Linked DNA regions of Homo sapiens: region 1 is linked to region 2. Evidence: promoter capture Hi-C in human tissues and cell types (Jung and others, 2019). All regions are on one chromosome and are shown on one strand. Each heading gives the region's core, a stretch centred on a gene start or on the middle of the fragment in contact. The rest is flanking DNA. Distances are from core to core; before and after follow the strand shown. Region 1 overlaps LOC105375156 (a long non-coding RNA gene). Region 2 holds the start of TMEM106B (transmembrane protein 106B).

Region 1 (3,563 bases), core at 28-2,527, 280 kb before region 2:
TTTTGCCTGTGGTTTTTTGTCTTGGCTTTTCTTCTTAATAAACCCTGACTTTGCCCAGCAAATAGTATTTGTCTTGCCCTCTAGCCTCCTGAAGGCATTCCCGCTTCTAGATACAGGTGAAGAAACTTCGGCTCCAATCCAAGCCCTAGACCAGTATCATGACTATGAGGTGAATGAAAAATAAGTGCGATCTGCATAGTTTATAACTTAATGTCCTAAGTTACCTCTCTGAGATTAGTTATATATATTAAGTGTTTACATTTAAAAGGATCTACTGAGTTTTCAAATACTGTAGACCTATACGGAATTCTGCTTCTTAGTTAAAATAAAAGTTCAATCAATCTCAGTTTTCCGTTTTTCAAAAATTCTGTTTCCGTTAATGTTTTATTATGAATGTGTTTCATTAAATAAACTTGCTGAGTTAAAGACACTTGAGCAAATGAGGGGAAACAATGCATATAAATAACCATCCAGATGATATATACATGCCAAATTATTAATAATGATGTAATGTGACTAAAAATCTTGAAATGTATACTGACTATTGGGGTAATCTTTTTCATGACAGATGTCCCTTGCTTTTTGTCTATACTGTTACAAGCCATTATGAAAATGATATTTTAATATGCCCCAATACTTCTTATTCTAGTGCAACAATAAGAATTCTTTTATATTGCAAATATCTTCACCATAATAGCCAGCATTTGGGTATTCCTTTTCTATGGTCTTTTCTTTCAAATTTCCAGGGCAAACTAGGGCAATAAAAGGTAGTCAAATATACGGAAACTCTTCTTAGCCAAAGCAAAAAACCAAAAAAAAAAAAACCAATCAAACCCCCTCCACACATATTGATTTAATTAAGATTAATTTCTCTGAAAATAATACTTTACAAGAAACATTTCATTGTTAAAATTGCACTTTCTTACAACAGCTACCTCAGAATGCATATATGGTATGAATATAACTTTTAAGCAATTCTTTTTGAATTTCACTTCTTAGATAAATACATAATTTATAAGCTATAATTTATCCTCATTGAATGTCCAAGGGCTTTATATTTTTTTTTTGCTGAGCTGTTTCAAACCACTCTGCCTTTGTCACATTCATAAAGGTGCAGCTGGCCATATGGGCTGTTGGCTAAATGATTCTGCAATGAGATTTGAATTTATCTAGAACTTGTTTCATTCTGAAATCCTGGATTCAGGCTCTCATTTGGCTCCCTATATACATCATTTAATTGAAGAAAAAGCTTGACTTTTCCAATAACTATTCTAAAAGTATAATTGACAGTAAGCTACAATTTAGTTAGTTTGTATTTGCATTTGTGATTTTCCTGTCATATGTGGACTGTTTTGCATTTGCCATGATTGAATCTCATTTTGGAAGCAGAGTTTTAATGAAGAGCTCTTTCTCAGATATAGGAAATTTAATGGTGAGTTGTACTGTCTTGAAGTTACTAATTCATAGTCTTGTTAGAGATTTGGGAAAGGCAGTGGCCAAATGAAGATAGATGGTTTTCAAATTAAGCAATGTTTGAAAGTTTTATGAAAATAACATATTTCTTTTTAAAGAAACATAATATCTATCAGGGGCACTGAATATTTATAATTCACTAAACTAAATTTCAGCTTAGTCACCTTCCAATCAATATGTATTCTTCTAAATGGTCACATGATACTTGAGAATTGGCATACTTCCAGTAGAGGGTTTCTTGTATTTTCTTTGAAAAATGTGGTAACAGAGTTTTCTGATTCTAAGACGATGGGATAATGTTTATAAATTAGTTGGCAAATTGGAATATACTTTAAATATTGATATTATGACCTGGTGTTTCCCATGCTAGAGAGCTGCTTGTTTGGTTCTTATTGGTTATAACTGCACAAGTATTTAAAAATTTTAAACAAGTACATTGACTTGTTCTACATGCCAGTGATGAGGCTAAGTACTTTATAGGTCACTTAAAGGAGACTGAATCTGTTTTCATATTTTCAGTTGAAAATACTTTTGTTTGCAATTTTTCCGCTACGCTGGCTTTGCTATTGAAGTTTTGCAGAGAGAATTGGCTTTAAAGACTCAATCCTTTATTGGTCCAAATTAATCTGCTGGATTCGTTTAATTCCTTGAAAAACACTCAAAATATTTTTTAGCCTTCTGTAAAGAACTAACCCAAAATTTCACTTACATTCTGTTTTGTTGTTATTATGTGGTCACAGGAAATAAATGGAGGAGTTTATATGGTTTAAAAAGACACCCTGGTCACACATTGGTTTACTCTCTCCTTGCTGAGATCAGACGCCAGGCACTGGAGAAACTGCATTTTGAAGGCCGTGAACATATCTTCATTTTTCTAAAGGATCAGTGTAGTCTTACTTTTATTTGAGTTTATTTCAGTATTCTAATAGGTTGTCTCTATGGATTTCAATCTCAAAGACAGACTTGTAAAATTTAATCCCTGACTTCTCTTCCCAAGTTTCTAGAATAACAACATTAAGTATCAGGTGGATGAAAAATCCAAATACAGTGATCATCAGGCTCATATTCCAAGCTGCCAAAATTATTCCCCAAATTATTTCACTTAATTTTTTGAATTTTCTGTTATTTGTAGAAAAAAGAGTTATCTCTGTTGCAGAGATAGGAAACTAGTCTTGAGATGTTAGGTAACTTACCTAAATTTAATCAGAAAATACATGACAGAAGCAGAAATGTTTTGATCTCCATATACACAAATGGATACTTCTTAGAGATATGTTAAATTGCACTCATGAAGTTAGTCTCTGAAAAAAAAGGAGGTGTATAAATTAAATTATAAAAATTATGGATACTTGATAATTACATTTTGATTTGACAATAATTTATCAGTTTATTTGCTGTAATATTAGAAAAGTAGTTTTATTCTTAAAATGTTCAAGAAATTATTCTACACACTACTATCTTTTAATTCTTACCACAAAATTACAATATTATCCGATATGCAGAACATAATGAAGTACACAGAATGAAGCTGAAGGAGAGTGCAAATACAAATTTGAATACAGGTGATGTGACTCTATCCAGAGCCCACAATGTTGACTAAAATGCTATTGTATGTTAGATTGAAATACTTTGCTCCATCAAAATAGTTTTAAAAATGTAAAATCAATGGAAAAAAATCACTGTTTAATGGCTTCAATCTTTTCCTTCCCTATATACAGAAATAGGAAAAACATAAATTTAATACATTGTCTAGGAGATTATTCATAAACTGATGAAACTATAAAATATTGACCTTGTATTGTTAGCATATCAGACTGCACCTAGATGCTATGGAACTAAGGCACCAAAGAGCAAATAAAACCTAATAGTAGATGTTCAATAAATATTGTTGAATGAATAGTGTGTGGAAAATGAGATACAACAAAATTCATATGAACTTACAGGACTCATATGAACTATAGAACTTTACATGGACTATATAACTTCTAGGACTCATACAAATTTTAATGCTAGATGGAATGGAGTTCTATTACACCATAACTATTCCTATTTAATAGAGAAAGCTATGTTGGAATCTTAAAGGTTAAGTA
Region 2 (3,627 bases), core at 82-2,581:
ATAAAAAAATAAATAAAATTCGCATGCCATCCACTTGTTGCTGTCACTCAAATAAACAGAATTTAAAAAACTATACAAATGGTATGCAAACAAATGTAAAATGAGATTTTCACTCTTTCAAAAAAAAAAAACTATGTATTTATAAAAATCACTGCCCACATCAAAAATACAAATGATTTATGACTTCTAAAAAATCATTGTCTTAATCAACACCTGTCAGCCACAGGTAGGATAGGGAAGACTTAACATCACTGTCCCCACACACTGTAACCTTGGGGTCTATGCGGAACACTAGATGAATTGGGATCATTGGGCCTTATCAGCAAGGCCTTAAGGGCACTCTTTCTGGGATCTCAGTCAACACAGCCAGGCTGTAAGCTGCATCTTAACTGGAGCGCGTTGAGAAAAAAGACACAGAAAGGCAGACTCAAGTGGCTCTCCGTTTGAGCCTGTTTTCTGTCCTAATCTAATAGCTGCCATGATCGATTCTGCTTTAGGGTAGGTGTTTGGACAAGTGCCAGACTCTGTGAGAAACTGGGAATCCCTTGCCTTCTCTACTAGATTTTCCTTAGAGAACTGACAAGTGTAACCACTTTTATTCTTGGGAGACTCAATGGTTTAAAAAAGGGGTGCTAGACCCTCTTCTGCAACCTCTGTGGGCTCAGTGTTATTTATTATAGCGGTTCCTTAGTTTACTGAAAGTCAACATGGATATCAGACTCAGTTTGGAGAGAAAAAATATATCACAGCACTCCAATTTAAATGGCTCCTGATCTTCTGTGTAGACACTGGTTTTAGTTCTAAAAGGGCTTGAGAACTAAGGAAACAAGCGCCTTTGAAAAGCTCCATAAACAACACCTAGCACAAAGCCTACTCTGTAAAGCTGCAAAATAAGATCCCGGCACCACGGCAAGAACATTCATCAACAGCAAAAGGAAGAGGGCCACCTGGCGCTCAAGGTGTGAGGGCCTAGAGGCAACCCAGAGGTAGGGCTTGGGCCGAAGCCGAGTGTTCCCTGGCTGGGCCTCATTAGAGGCGACACAGCAACTCGATCACCAGCCCTGACCGCCGCCGTACCTGCGGCTGGCCCAGCACCCCAGCGGCCTCCCCTCCTTGTCAGGCCCGGCTCAAGCCGCGGCGCAGCCGCTCAGCCTCGCTCCGGAAGGGGACCTGGGGACTGCACGTCCGGGGTCGCTCACCGGCACGCGGGGCGCTGCGCAGTCCCGGGCTGCTTCGGCGCGGACAGGGCCGAGGACAGGGTCGTGGAGTCCACAGTCCCGGGAGCCGGGGGGTGGAGCGACCGGCCTGGAGCGCGCGGCCGCCGTAGAGCTGGGACGGGGGAGGGGTAGGATAACGACGGCATCAGCAGAGGCCAAGCGCTGCTGTAACCTGCGTCCGCGCCTGCGCAGAGCGCTCCCGGAGGGACACCCCTGGCGTGCGCGTGACGCATGCGTCCTTCTTCCTCCTGTTTGAGCCCAGAGGCGTCGATCGTGTGAGATTGTGCGCTCTTCAGGTTTCATTACCTTCGCGTCCCCCAGACTTCAAAGTGTCCACTGTAGCCACGAATTACCTAGGAACAGTCGCTCCTCCTATTTCCCATATCAGACCATTTCCTTTTGCAAAGGGTATAAATGTGCACCATCTGCCTCAGCTTTCAGCTGAGCAGCCTCCTCGCTCACGCAATGCGAGTTGTCGCTGACAGTCTGGTCCTTAGGAATGGAATAAACTGGTCCGTACACACGCCGCTGACAGCAGCAAAGCTACCTCTATTTTAATTTAGAAACTGGCCAACTAGAAGGAGACAGCAAGCGGCAAGGCCGTAGTTTTTGTTTTTGCTCGGTTTCGTTTCGCTTTGCCCACGCTGCCCCTCCCCACCCCTTAACTCTGGTGCTAGTTACAGGTGTGTGAAATCCCGTCTCGGATCCCAGTACTTAAGCTCTTCGCTGTGGGTTGGGGCTGCCCTCCCCCAACGTCTAGGTCATTTCACTTAGAAGATAAGAACAACGACAAGGAGTCGTTTTGAGGGATCAATGAGATGCCGGTAATAATATTAAGGGCACTCTAGTCTCATTCCTGCGGAGAGTTTAACGTTTAATGAATGGTAGGCATTCTTACAGTCACAGGAGCAAGGAAGTGAGAGTCATATATTTCTCTCTTCTAACAGGATCAGTGTGATCCTGTTAGAATCAGGGAATTCTAACAGGAATTGGGAAATGAAGCTATGTAAAAGTAGGAAATACAAGTCAGAACGATATACAATTTAAGAGGATTACTGTAGATCCATATGTGAGATAATGAGCTTTCTCATACAATGTTGTCGGAGATTTAAAACTCCTAAGTTTTCTGGCAGACAGTCAGTATGTATCAAGACTATTAAAATGTTCACATCGTTTGGTCCAGCAATTCCACCCTTTCAGAAGTATCCTAAACCTAATGAGAACTCTAAAAAGATTTGGGTATGAGGTGTATCCATTTAAATAAACTGAATGTCCAACAAGGGACATTGATAAAATCATTATTTTTCAACCGCTTTTATTTAGCCCATATTTTCCAAAGGGAAGGGTCAGGGTGTCTTCCATTAACACTGTTTGAAATTTCAAAATTAATAGGTTGGTTAAAACAAATCAGAATCATGGGGGAAAATTTTTCTCAAAATTATTGACAGTCCACCTGTGGAGATATGATGTTCCCCTTGGAATTACTGAGTTTTTAAAATTATGGAATAGCCATCTATTGAGTTTTTATAAAGCCAGTAAAAACCATCTTATAAGGCTGTTATACGCGGAGTGATATAAAATTAAAATCAGGATGCAAAGTATAGGATATGAGGTATTGTAATAGGATGTAAACTATATTCACATATAGATAACATATAGATATAAATATATTACATATCTGCCTTGAAATGGAAAGAAATATACAAAATATAAACAGTTGCCTGTAGTTTGAGAGCATGGATGTTTTTTCTTTATTATTGTTAAATAGGCAAATGGTTCTATAATGTAATATATATTATTCTTAAGTGAAAAAGTTACTTTTTTCTTTAATTCTTAAGGGAGTATTTAGTATTTTCTCAACCTCATCATTTAACTTAAAACGTGCTGGCCATATAGCACAGTTCCTTATCCAAATTCCTGGAATTCACATAGGAATAAGTCTTCCTGGGAGAATGTTGCTGTAAGAAGCAGTTCAGTAGCAGGGTTGGGAACACAGCCTTGGGAGCCATATGGCCTGAAAATGAGCCCAGCCTGACAGAGATATACAAAATCTCTGTAAGAGTGGGCAAAATACTTAGCCTTCTTTATACCTAATTTTTATTATCTGCAAAATGAAGATAGTAATAATGTCTGTCTCAAAGGGTTATGGATGGGAGCTGATACCTGCAGAGCAATCAGTAAATATTAGATATTATGATTACAAATTTATCATCCATATAACAAGGAAGTACTTTAAAGACAGATATTGAATGTTTGGTACATTTGTTCCTATGCCTTATTTTTCATTGAAGCACATTTTGAAAGGAAAATTTTCTGAAAAGCTTCCAATTATTTGATTAACAGTGATTTCTTGAGTTCCGAGTTCAGTAGTGGTCTAGGTGCTATCAGATATAAAGGCCAGTAATTTTAA

Evidence for each region. The method cuts DNA at HindIII sites, captures the fragments that hold promoters and counts their contacts. A contact is called where the count stands out against the background at its distance.
Region 1: a contact is called between a fragment that was not itself captured here and the fragment with the promoter of TMEM106B in region 2, in 1 of the 25 tissues and cell types used here (H1 embryonic stem cells).

Annotation. Positions count from the first base shown.
Region 1 is chr7:12,486,175-12,489,737 of GRCh38, reverse strand. The region is part of intron 6 of LOC105375156 (a long non-coding RNA gene); the gene reads left to right. It also overlaps a transcript of C7orf78 not described here. Among named protein-coding and RNA genes, the nearest start is that of C7orf78, 16 kb to the left of the region's middle. The HindIII fragment of the contact is 7,072 bases long and covers 1-3,563 here.
Region 2 is chr7:12,208,998-12,212,624 of GRCh38, reverse strand. It overlaps TMEM106B (transmembrane protein 106B), which reads right to left and starts at 1,331. Exons shown (of 8, transcript NM_001134232.2): 1 at 1,200-1,331. RefSeq lists enhancers at 614-1,130, 1,523-1,572, 1,131-1,649, 1,783-1,932 and a silencer at 1,033-1,342. The HindIII fragment of the contact is 10,585 bases long and covers 1-3,627 here.